Regions from separate parts of the Homo sapiens genome. Here all the other regions are linked to region 1. The links are contacts of gene promoters, found by promoter capture Hi-C in human tissues and cell types (Jung and others, 2019). All regions are on one chromosome and are shown on one strand. Each heading gives the region's core, a stretch centred on a gene start or on the middle of the fragment in contact. The rest is flanking DNA. Distances are from core to core; before and after follow the strand shown. Region 1 holds the start of RFC2 (replication factor C subunit 2). Region 2 overlaps ELN (elastin). Region 3 overlaps GTF2IRD1 (GTF2I repeat domain containing 1).

Region 1 (3,940 bases), core at 75-2,574:
ACAGGTCATCTGGAGCAATGTGACACTGTGCTGCAACCCTGTCCGCCCGTCACAAGAGGCCCAGCACATACAGCACTGACATCATTTGGTGTGACAACATGGGTGCAACCAAGCTCCTTTCTCATCCCTTACCTGCCAGTTTCTTTTCTTTTTTTTTTTTTTGGAGACAGAGTTTTGCTCTTGTTGCCCAGGCTGGAGTGCAATGGTGCGATCTTGGGTCACTACCAACCTCAGGTGATCTGCCCACCTCAGCCTCCCAAAGTGCTGGGATTACTGGCGTGAGCCACCATGCCAGGCAAGGATTACCTGCCAGTTTCTGCAGACGTGTGCCAAATACACAGCATAGCTGGCTAGACACCGTAGGCCTAGGCTGGGTACAGTGGCTCATGCCTGTAATCCCAGCACTTTGGGAAGGCGAGGCGGACGGATCACTTGAGATCAGGACTTCGAGACCAGCCTGGCCAACATGGTGAAACCCAGCCTCTACTAAAAACACAAAATTAGCAGGGTGTGATGGTACATGCCTGTAATCCCAGCTACTAGGAAGGCTGAGGCAGAATTGATTGAACCAGGGAGATGCAGGTTGTAGTGAGCAGAAATCACACCACTGCACTCCAGCCTGTGTGACAAAGTGTGACTCCATCTAAAAAAAAAAAATTAACTGGGCATGGTGGTGCGTGCCTGTAGTCCCATCTACTTAGGAGGCTGAGGCAGGGGGATCACTTGAGCCAAGGAGCTGGACATCAGCCTGGGCAACACAGCAAAACCCCCGTCTTGATTTTTTTAAAAAAATTTCAAATGTAAATGTTATTGAACCTAACAGTCAAAATATTATTTTCAACATGTAATCGATATTTTTTTTAAAAGATTGAAGTTTTTGAAAACACTAGGTCATACACTACTATACACAAAAACTTTTGAAAAAACCAACTAGGTCAGAGTAGGTGGCCACCCGGGGTAGCCCTAATTGTCATAAGCATTGTAGTGAGCGAGACTCCGCTCGCAGAGTTTAGACCGGCCACTCTCGATCCATGTCCGTCGCCTTCTTGAAATCATCTCGATGCCACCCGGGGCCTCCTCCTCCCTCGGGATTCCCCAAAACGAGCCCCTGACCCCCGAGTTTCTCCGGAGCACGGCCCGCCACTCGCCCACCCTCACGTCCAAACGCGCCCATTCTTTACGGCCTGGGACCTCACCACGGCAGTTCGTAGTGGCCGGCGCTGCCGGGGGCCTTGCTGAAGGCAGGGGCAGGGTCAGAGTCCTGGGCCTCCACCTCGCCCGCGCCACCACAGACGGCCTCCACCTCCATTCTCGCGCCTCCTCTTCCCGCCACCCGAGGCACCGCCCCTTGACGCCGCCACGCAAGCCCCGCCCCCTGGCTTCCGCCGGGCGCGAGCGGAAGTTACGTACCCGCGCCTCTCTGTGCCTGCGAAGAGGGTTCCGGTGGTGCCCTGGCGGCCATCGCTGGAGGCCGCGGTTGCTATGGGAGACCTGGCGCCCGGCCTGGGAGCGACAGGAAGGCGAGCTGTGGCCGCGACGCCTTCCGAGAAAGCAGGTCGCTCTCGGAACGGACGTTTGTGTGTGGTTTCTGTGGAAGATCCGCTCCGCGGCGGCGTGGGAGGAGCAGGGCCTGGAGGGGTTGCGGCCAAACGCGGGCTTCGGTGTTGGGACACGGACAACGCTGGCGTCCGGGCGCTGCTGGGCAGCGGGGTCCGGGGATGACGTCTGGGGCTGCCCGTGCCCACTTTTCCAGATTGCTCTGAATGTCCTAGTGAGCTGCTCCCGTTGGGTAGGCTCCTGCGCCTCAACCGCGCTCGGTACTCGACGTTTATTATCAGGGAATTCTCGGCTGCAAGATGGGAATTCCACCCCCACCCCATTTTGCAGAGGAGGAAACTGAAACCGTCCTTTTGTCAGATGAAATGCAATGTTCATTCCAGGAAAATAGGGACTCAAGGCCGGTGCGGTGGCTCACCCCTCTAATCCCAGCACTTTGGGGGACAGAGACCGGAAGAGCGATTAAGCCCAGGAGTTCGAGACCAGCCTGGGCAACAAAGTGAGATCCCCGTCTCTACAAAAATAAAAATTAAAAAAGTAGCCGGGCGTGGTGGCGCGCACCTGCAGTTCCAGCTACTCAGGAAGCTGAGGCGGAGGAGTGCTTGAGCCCAGGAGGTGCAGGCTGCAGTGATCTCTGATCACACCACTGCACTCCAACCTGGTCTGCAGCAAGACCCTGTCTCAAAAAAGAAAAAGTAAATACTTCAACCTTGCAAGGGTTTTGAGCATTCTTATGGGCTGTTTTTCTACCCAATCTTTCCTCCCATAGCCCAAATTGTCATAATATTCAATAATGATGATCCCAGAACTTTGGGAGGCTAAGGTGGGAGGATCCCTCAAGCCGAGGAGTTTGAGACCAGCCTGGGCAACATGGTGAGACCCCATCTCTACAAAAAAAATTTTTTAAATTATCCAGTTGTGGTGGTACGCGACAGTAGTCCCAGTTACTCGGGAGGCTGAGGCAGGAGAATCGGTTGAGCCCATGAGGTTGAAGCCACAGTGAACCATGATCAAGTCAATGTACTCCAGCCCCGGGGGACAGAGTGAAATCCTGTTTCTAAAAAAATAAGAAGAAAAGAAAGTAGGTACTTCAGATTCACAAGTGCTTTGACCATTCTTTGTTTTGTTTCTTGTTTTTTGTTTTTGAGATGGAGTCTCACTCTGTCACCCAGACTGGAGTACAGTGGTGTGATCTCAGCTCACTGCAATGTCAGGCTCCCAGGTTCAAGTGATTCTCCTGCCTCAACCTCCCGAGTAGCTGGGACTACAAGCGTGTGCCACCACACCTGGCTAATACTTGTATTTTCAGTAGAGATGGGGTTTCGCCACGTTGACCAGGCTGGTCTCAAACTCCTGACTTCAAGTGATCCGCTTGCCTCAGCCTCCCAAAGTGCTGGGATTACAGGTGTGAGCCACCGCGTCTGGCCAAGCAGTTGGTTTTAACGATAGTATTAACGTATACAGATTCACAACTTAACACAGTGTTTTTCTTTCCATGTAATTTGGAAAAAATGTTTGAATTGGCCATCTCTCCCCTATTCCCCCTTTAAACTGATGGAGCGGTCTTGTCTGTTTTTTCAATCATTATTCACAGGTCTTTTATTTTTCCGGAGGAGAAAATACACACTCCTCTTGAAATATACACTTTTCTTGAAATGTCTCCGCGGTTTTTCCATAGGATTGTTCCTTTGTAATCTTCATGTTTTCCTTGTAATCACTATGACACACATCCCTCCCATCACATAACACAGTTTAGAAACTAATTTTTAATAAGTACAGAACACGGTTCCTTTCATAATTCTCCAAAAACCCCCACTCTACAGGAGGCCTTTTGGCGCTGCTAGGGCTCTCCTCTAACTGATGGAATGCCAGGAGAACCAGAGATGGAGGTGACTCTTAGGGCAAAGCTGCACTGTCAGGACATTTCTTTTTTTTAGACTGAGCCTTTTGTGACCTATTGGACTTGGGCCCAAACAGAGCTCAGAACTTAAAAACTCCAGCCGCTCCCCTGGGACTGAAAAACAGCAATGTTGGGGAACCAGGGAGTGCTGGGGAAACCACAGGCTCTTGTGAAAGGGCATAGAGTAGCCACGGAGAATTCCTCCCAGCAAATCCTTCAAATCTCAGGAAATTAAATACACACTGAGGCTAAGCTCCCAGACTGTCATCACAAGAGGGCAAGGCAGTTATACACCAAGAGGAAGCATGTAGAAAGGAAATAAAATTGAAACCAAAATCCTCTTTCCCCAAATCCAGAGGCTTCCAATCAAATTGTCAGAGAAGTCAGGCAACACATCTTAGTTTGAATGACACCTTGACTTTCACCGTTAGCTTACTTCCTGAGTTATGTTGCAGGATGTAAGGCTGAAAATCTGCTGGCGTG
Region 2 (4,116 bases), core at 1,504-4,003, 190 kb before region 1:
CTCTAGAGGAGGCGGCAGAACTCCCAGGCACAGAGCTCGGCTCCTGACCACTCCCCAACTTTTCTTTCTCCCCAGTACCTGGAGCCCTGGCTGCCGCTAAAGCAGCCAAATATGGTGAGTGCACCCCACAACCACTTGTGGCTCCCTTGCCACCACACCATCCCTGACAGCACAGGACTGGGGTGGTCACAATAGAAAAAGGCAGTTTCGGCCGGGCGTGGTGGCTCACACCTGTAATCCCAGCACTTTGGGAGGCCGAGGCAGGCAGATCACCTGAGGTCAGGAGTTCCAGACCAGCCTGAACAATATGGTTAAACCCCATCTCTACTAAAAATTCAAAAATTAGCCAGGCGTGGTGGCGGGCACCTGTAATCCCAGCACTTTGGGAGGCCGAGGTGGGCAGATCAACTGAGGTCGGGGGTTCCAGACCAGCCTGACCAATATGGTGAAACCCCATCTCTACTAAAAACACAAAAATTAGCCAGGTGTGGTGGCGGGCACCTGTAATCCCAGCTACTCGGGAGGCTGAGGCAGGAGAATCGCTTGAACCCAGGAGATGGAGGTTGCAGTGAGCCGAGATCACGCCACTGCACTCCGGCCTGGACGACAGAGCGAGACTGTATCTCAAAAAAAGAAAAGAAAAGAAAAAGAAAAAGGCAGTTTCTAGGACACGTTTATGACAGTTTAAAAACCTGGCCCCTGCCCACTAAATGCTTATGGTGCCTTCAACCCCTGTGACCACCAAAAACACCCTTGAAATCCCAGTTGCCCCCCAGGAGGCAATTCCACCATCCCTAAGCTTGCCCTGACCCTGACAGTTACATGGTCCCTGTGTCCAGGAAGGGACTGGGCCTGCTGTGGGTATGAGGAGTCTGGGCAGTCTCTGCCTCCACCCCAGCTCTCTGGCCCGAGCAAAGGAGCTGGTATTCCTCATCTGGGCACCCCGGGCCCCCGCCCGCCTTCCTGTCCTGCCAGCAGGACCGCTCCCACCACGAGCCAGCCCAGAGGACGTGGCAGTCCCACAGCCTCTGCACTTGGCGCTCTGGCAGCCCTGCCTGGCCAGACCCACGCTGTCTGTAGCCCCTGAATTCCTGGCCTCCTGTGAGCAGCGTTGGTGGGAGGTGGAAGACTCCCCCAGGGATCCACCAACCAGCCGGGCAGGTCCACTTGGGGCCAGTTTCTACCTCGGAAAATCCTGGCTTCCTCAGCGCCGACCCCCAGCAGCCCTGGCCTCCTCCCCTGCTCACTGCTGACTGCTTGGCAGGCCTGAGTCAACAGACATTGCCAGGGAAACAGAGTGACGTCATGTGGTGGAGCCGCGAAGGGCGCAGGCTCCCCAGCCACTTCCCGTCCCTGAAGCCCTGAGCACACTGCTTAACCTCTGCTCTGCCTCAGCGTTCTCATCTGCAAAATGGGAATGACAATAGTGCCTACCTTTCCTGCTGCAATGCATAAAAAATGGGCTGCTAAGTGTGAAGCACTCAAAATGTTAAGTGCCTGCTGTAGATACTATTACCGTTGTTTGTTTGTTTGTTTGTTTGTTTTGACAGAGTCTTGCTCTGTCGCCCAGGCTGGAATGCAGTGGTACGATCTTGGCTCCCTGCAGCCTCCATCTCCCGGGTTCAAGTGATTCTCCTGCCTCAGCCTTCCAAGTAGCTGGGATTACAGGCGCCCGCCACCACGCCTGGCTAATTTTTGTATTTTTCGTAGAAACAGGGTTTCACCGTGTTGGCCAGGCTGGTCTCAAACTCCTGACCTCAGGTGATCCACTAGCCTCAGCCTCCCAAAGTGCTGGGATTACAGGTGTGAGCCACCGCACCCGGCTTACAAAAGAACTTTTAAGGCCAGGCACAGTGGTTCACACCTTCGGGAGGCTAAGGCAGGAGGATCGCATGAGCCCAGGAGTTGGAGGCTGCAGTGAACTATGATTGTACCACTGCACTCCAGCCGGGGTGACAGAGCAAAACCCCATCTCAAAATGAAACAAAATATGGACTGGACTTCCTGTCCACTGCTCCTCCACAGTGTCACATGGCCCCTGCCACCTGTCTGCTTGCCTTGTGTCCCTGGGGCAGGGAGACCCATCGTTCAGAAATGGAACACTCATTTTCCCTCCTCTCCCCGCAGGAGCAGCAGTGCCTGGGGTCCTTGGAGGGCTCGGGGCTCTCGGTGGAGTAGGCATCCCAGGCGGTGTGGTGGGTGAGTTGAAACCCCAGGAGGGGCAGGGTGGGGAGGGAATCTAACCAGTACAGAGTGCCTCCCTGAACTCGGTCTGTGTTCCCAGGAGCCGGACCCGCCGCCGCCGCTGCCGCAGCCAAAGCTGCTGCCAAAGCCGCCCAGTTTGGTGAGCACTGGGTGGAGGTGGGAGCTGCCGCCAGGCCCCCAGGCCCCCAGGGTGTGGGAGGAGCTTCTGACCAGGCACTGTAGACTCAGAGTCCCTGCCCCAGACACCTCCTGGCTCCACTGTGCCATCGAAGGCCAGGGGAGACCTCAGGCTCCACCTGTGTCCCCAGAGGACACCTCCGCCCTCCACAGGCCGAGGCTTCAGTCCCACCTTTCTGACCAGCGGAGTCTAATGCTCAGCTGTCTCCACAGGCCTAGTGGGAGCCGCTGGGCTCGGAGGACTCGGAGTCGGAGGGCTTGGAGTTCCAGGTGTTGGGGGCCTTGGAGGTGAGAGTTGTTCTGAAATCAGTGAGTGTGTGTGGTGTGTGTATGCGAGACAGAGATGGAGACAGAGACAGAGACAGAGACTTTCGTTCCCACCCCTGGCACGTCTTTGCTCAAGATGTCCTCTTGGCCAGGTGCGGTGGCTCACGCCTGCAATCCCAGCACTCTAGTAGGCCAAGGTGGGCGGATCACTAGAGGTGAGGAGTTTGAGACCAGCCTGGGTGACATGGCGAAACCTCATCTCTACCAAAAATACAAAAATAAGCCGGGCGTGGTGGTGGGCACCTGTATTTCCAGCTACTTGAGAGGCTGAGGCCAGAGGATCGCTTGAGCCCAGGAGGCAGAGGCTGCAGTGAGCTGAGATGGTACCACTGCATTCCAGCTTGGGCAGCAGAGTGAGACCCTGTCATCTAAAAAAAAAAAAGAAAGAAAGAAAAGAAAAGAGGCCAGGCATGGTGGCTCACGCCTGTGATCCCAGCACTTTGGGAGGCTGAGGTGGGCAGATCACGAGGTCAGATCAAGACCATCCTGGCTAACACAGTGAAACCCCGTCTCTACTAAAAATACAAAAAATTAGCTGGGCGTGGTGGCAGACGCCTGTAGTCCCAGCTACTCAGGAGGCTGAGGCAGAAGAATGGCGTGAACCTGGGAGGCGGAGCTTGCAGTGAGCCGAGATCGCGCCACTGCACTCCAGCCTGGGCGACAGAGCGAGACTCCGTCTCAAAAAAAAAATATATATATATATATATATATGTATGTATGTATGTATATAAATTAGCTGGGCATGGTGACACACGCCTGTAATCCCAGCTACTCGGGAGCCTGAGACAGGAGAATCACTTGAACCCAGGAGGCAGAAGTTGCAGTGAGCCAAGATCACGCCGCTGCACTCCAGCCTGAGCAACAGAGCAAGACCTCATCCCAAAACAAAATAAAAACAAGAAATGTGGCAAACGGGAGCTGGGGCTATCCCTTGCCGCCAGGGTCCCAGTCCTCCCCCTCTCCTCTCTCTTTCAACCCACCTGACCACTGCGGTGGGAGTAAATTAGGAGAATGATGGTTATGCCAGTTCTCCAAGAAAGAAATCAAAGCTTGGAGAGAAATTGCTTTCCCTAAGTCTCCACCATGGTGGCCGACCTTGTGTGGCCATTTCCCCCTTTCTTGGGCTGTCATTGTGTCTCCCCCTGTAAACTAGCCTGCACAGCTCTTCCTGTGAGTGCCACAAGACCAGACACACAGTAGGAGCTTAACAATTAAGACTTTTGGGGCCGGGCATGGTGGCTCATGCCTGTAATCCCAACACTTTGGGAGGCTTAGGTAGGTGGATTGCTTGAGGCCAGGAGTTCAAGACCAGCCTGGACAATGTAGCAAGACCCCCCCCCACCACCACCTCTACGAAATATTTAAAAATTAGCTGGGCGTGGTGTGTGCCTGTAGTTTCAGCTACTT
Region 3 (4,051 bases), core at 637-3,136, 240 kb after region 1:
AGTAGAGACGGGGTTTCGCCATGTTGGCCAGCCTGGTCTCAAACTCCTGACCTCAGGTGATCTGCCCACCTTGGCCTCCCAAAGTGCTGAGATGACAGGTGTGAGCCACCACTCCTGGCCTGGTTTCAGTTCCTTTCTAAGGGCAAGGACAGCTCTCCTAGAAGTCCCTCATGTCTCAGTGGCCAGAATTGGGTTCTGGCCTCTCCTTACACCTGTCCCAGCTAGGGGAAAAGGAGTGCCTTGCTCTGAGCCTTGGAGAATCACCAAAGTTCCTCCCAGGGACTGGGAGGGCCCAGCTGCCCCAAGCACTGGTTGTTGGGACAACCCAGCAAAGTTTGTCCCATCTTTAGATACCAGGACACAACGGGGGGATTCTGTTAGCAGGGAGTGGGGCAGAGGACTTGGAGGACAGCTTTTGGGGTCAGATCCAGGACTGGAACTCAGATTTTTTTTGTGTGTGTGTGTGACAGAGTCTAGCTCTGTCCCCTGGGTTGGACTGCAGTGCTGCAGTCATAGCTCATTGCAGCCTTGACCTCCCGTGTCAAGCTATCCTCCTGCCTCAGCACCCCGAGTAGCTGGGACAACAGGCACGCACCACCACACCTGGCTAACTTTTTTGTTTTTTTGTAGAGATGGGGTCTCACTGTGCTGCCCAGGCTGATCTTGAACTCCTGGGCTTGATCCTCCTGCCTTAGCCTCCCAAAGCACTGGGATTACAGGCGTGAGCCACTGCGCCCAGTGAGACCCCAGGTGTCTTAACCATGACCCCAGACTGCCTTCTACTGCACTGCGGCTGGGTGTAAGACCCCCTCCCGCTGCCCAGCCCAGAGCCTGGCCTGAGCAGATACGAATGGAAGGCCAGGGCTGTGACTGGCAGTGTTCTTCCCGGCTACAGTGACAGTGGTGGTGGGGGAGGGCAGGAATCCAGGACCCCCAGGCCACTCTACCCCCACTGGGGAGCCTCTGGGACTAGAGAGGGAGTATTCAGAGGGAGGCTGAGGCTGCTGGGGAGAAAGGATACCCCCCCCCCCGCCCGCCTTCCAGAAGGGGAGAAATTTCTTTTTTGTTTGTTCTCTCAAGCTTCTTTTTCAAGAAACAAGCATATGGCAGCGGATGGTGCGGGGGCCGTGTTTGGGTGGGGTGTGTGCCTGCCTTTGCCTTTTACGTGGTTGGGTGTATTTTTTTTTTTCTCCATCAGCTCCAACGCCCCAGCTGGTCCATAGGGCAGTGAGACTTGAATCACAGAGACGCTTCTCTGGTGTCCAGAAAAATCCGGCTCTTTCTAGTGGCGCTTCCAAGGGGGAAGAGATTGGAGAGCTCTCCAGCAAACCCAGGCCTGAGCTTTGCAGAGGTCTGAGCTGAGGACTGAGTGTCCAAGGGGCTGAGGATGTGGACTGTCTTTGTGAGGTGGGGTACAGCCAGTGAAGGAGCCAGTGTTAATTTCCTGAAGCTGCTGTAACACGGGCCACACAGACTTCGTGCCTTAAAGCAACAGAAATTTCAGGCCGAGTGCGGTGGCTCATGCCTGTAATCCCAGCACTTTGGAAGGCTAAAGTGGGCAGATCATGAGGTCAGGAGTTCAAGACCATTCTGGCCAACATGGTGAAACCCCATCTCTACTAAAAATACAAAAATTAGATGGGCGTGGTGGCAGGCACCTGTAATCCCAGCTACTCAGGAGGCTGAGGCACGAGAATCGCCTGAACCCTGGAGGTGGAGGTTGCAGTGAGCTGAGATCCCACTGCTGCACTCCAGCCTGGGTGACAGAGTGAGGGAGAAAAAAAAATTCTTTTTTTTTTTTTTTTTTTTTTTACTTTGAGGTTCTTGGGTACAAGTGTGCAGGTTTGTGACATAGGTAAACTTGTGTCATGGGGGTTTGTTGTACAGATTCTTTTTTCACCCAGGTATTAAGCCCAGTACCCAATAGTTATTTCTTATGATCTTCTCCCTCCTCCCACCCTCCACCTTCTGAAAGGCCCCAGTGTGTGTTGCCCCCCTCTCTGTGTCCATGTGTTCTCATTGTTCAGCTCCCACTTATAAGTGAGAACATGCAGTATTTGGTTTTCTGTTCTTGTGTTAGTTTGCTAAGGATAATGGCCTCCAGCTCCATCCATGTCCCTGCAAAGAACATGATCTTGTTCTTTTTTGTGGCTGCATAGTATTCCATGGTGTATACCTACCACATTTTCTTTACCCAGTCTATCATTGATGGGCATTTAGGTTGATTCCATGTTTTTGCTGTTGTGAATAGTGCTGCAGTAAACATACGTGTGCATGTGTCTTTATTGTAGAATGATTTCTATTCCTTTGGGTATATACCCAGTAAGGGATTGCCGGGTCCAATGGTATTTCTGTCTTTAGGTTTTTGAGGAATCACCACACTGTCTTCCACAATGGCTGAACTAATTTACAACAGTGTATAAGTGTTCCTTTTTCTCCACAACCTCACCAACATCTGTTATTTTCTTGTTCGTTTGTTTTTGTTTTTGTTTTTGTTTTGAGACGGAGTCTTACTCTGTTGTCCAGACTGGAATGCAGTGGTGCAATCTCAGCTCACTGCAACCTCTACTTCCTGGGTTCAAGCAATTCTCCTGCCTCAGCCTCCCGAGTAGCTGGGATTACAGGCACACACTACCATTCCCGGCTAATTTTTTTTTTTTTTTTTTGAGACAGAGTCTCACTCTGTCGCCCAGGCTGGAGTTCAGTGGCGTGATCTCGGCTCACCGCAAGCTCTGCCTCCCGGGTTCACGCCATTCTCCTCCCTCAGCCTCCCGAGTAGCTGGGACTACAGGTGCCTGCCACCACGCCTGGCTAATTTTTTGTATTTTTAGTGGAAACTGAGTTTCACCATGTTAGCCAGGATGGTCTTGATCTCCTGACCTCATGATCTGCCCACCTTGGCCTCCAAAAGTGCTGGGATTACTGGTGTGAGCCACCACGCCTGGCCCAGCATCTGTCATTTTTTGACTTTAATAATAGCCATTCTGACTGGTGTGAGATGATATCTCATTGTGGTTGTGATTTGCATTTCACTCATGATCAATGATGTTGATTGAGTCTTTTTTCATAAGATTGTTGGCTGCATGTACATCTCCTTTTGAAAAGTGTCTGTTCATGTCCTTTGCCCATGTTTTTATGAGAACAAGAGAAATTTCTATTCTCACAGTTCTGGAGGCCAAAGGTCCAAAATCATTACCACTGGGCCAAAATCAAGGTGCCGACAGTGCCATGCTCCCTCCAGAGGCTCTCGGGGGGAATCTGTTCCTGGCCTCTTCTAGCTCCTGGGGGCTGCCAGCACTCCTGGGCTTGTGGCCGCATCACTCCAGTCTTCAAGGCCAGCATCTTCCAATCTCTCTCTACTTCGTCTTCACTTGGACTTCTCTTCTATATGGATGTCCAGTCTTCCTCTACCCTATTTTTAAAAAATGTTTGTAGAGCTGGGGTCTTGCTGTGTTGCTCAGGCTAGTCTCAAACTCTTAGCCTCAAGTGGTCCTCCTGACTTGAAGTGATCCTGCTGCCTTGGCCTCCCAAAGCACTGAGATTACAGGAATGAGCCACTGTGCCTGGCATGACCTCTTCTTCTTCTTCTTTTTTTTTTTTTTTTGAGATAGGGGTCTCACTGTCTTGCTCAGGCTGGAGGGCAGTGACGTGATCTCAGCTCACAGCATCCTTGACCTCCTGGGCTCAGGGGATCCTCCCATCTCAGCCTCCCGAGTAACTGGGACTATAGGCATGCTCCACCACACCCAGCTAATTTTTTTTTATTTTTTGTAGAGATGGGGTCTCACTATGTTTCCCAGGCTGGTCTCAAACTCCTGGGCTCAAGCAATCCTCCTGCCTTGGCCCCCAAAGTGCTGGGCTTACAGGTATGAGCTACCGCGCCCGGCCATGACCTCTTCTTATAAGGATGCATGTGATGGCATTTAGAGCCTACCCGGCTAAGCCAGAATAATCCCCTACCTCAAGATCCTTAATCACATCTGCAAAGTGATTTTGCCATATAAGGTAACACAGGCTCTGGGGATTAGGACATGGCTGTCTTTTGGAGGTC

What was found. The method cuts DNA at HindIII sites, captures the fragments that hold promoters and counts their contacts. A contact is called where the count stands out against the background at its distance.
Region 2: a contact is called between a fragment that was not itself captured here and the fragment with the promoter of RFC2 in region 1, in 4 of the 25 tissues and cell types used here (IMR-90 fibroblasts, dorsolateral prefrontal cortex, lymphoblastoid cells and 1 more).
Region 3: a fragment that was not itself captured here is called in contact with the fragment with the promoter of RFC2 in region 1 in 2 of the 25 tissues and cell types used here (dorsolateral prefrontal cortex and thymus).

Annotation. Positions count from the first base shown.
Region 1 is chr7:74,253,075-74,257,014 of GRCh38, forward strand. RFC2 (replication factor C subunit 2) reads right to left here and starts at 1,325. Exons shown (of 11, transcript NM_181471.3): 1 at 1,197-1,325. The coding sequence starts at 1,309. RefSeq lists enhancers at 357-959, 960-1,562, 999-1,228, 1,563-2,165, 1,639-1,718 and 2 more and a silencer at 1,279-1,398. The HindIII fragment of the contact is 19,783 bases long and covers 1-3,940 here.
Region 2 is chr7:74,061,026-74,065,141 of GRCh38, forward strand. It overlaps ELN (elastin), which reads left to right. Exons shown (of 33, transcript NM_000501.4): 26 at 76-114; 27 at 2,128-2,199; 28 at 2,285-2,344; 29 at 2,596-2,670. It overlaps ELN-AS1 (ELN antisense RNA 1), which reads right to left and starts at 1,255. Exons shown (of 2, transcript NR_183555.1): 1 at 1,185-1,255. RefSeq lists enhancers at 589-1,089, 1,090-1,590, 1,134-1,428 and a silencer at 1,231-1,423. The HindIII fragment of the contact is 5,904 bases long and covers 1-4,116 here.
Region 3 is chr7:74,489,523-74,493,573 of GRCh38, forward strand. The region is part of intron 1 of GTF2IRD1 (GTF2I repeat domain containing 1); the gene reads left to right. Among named protein-coding and RNA genes, the nearest start is that of GTF2IRD1, 38 kb to the left of the region's middle. The HindIII fragment of the contact is 6,256 bases long and covers 1-4,051 here.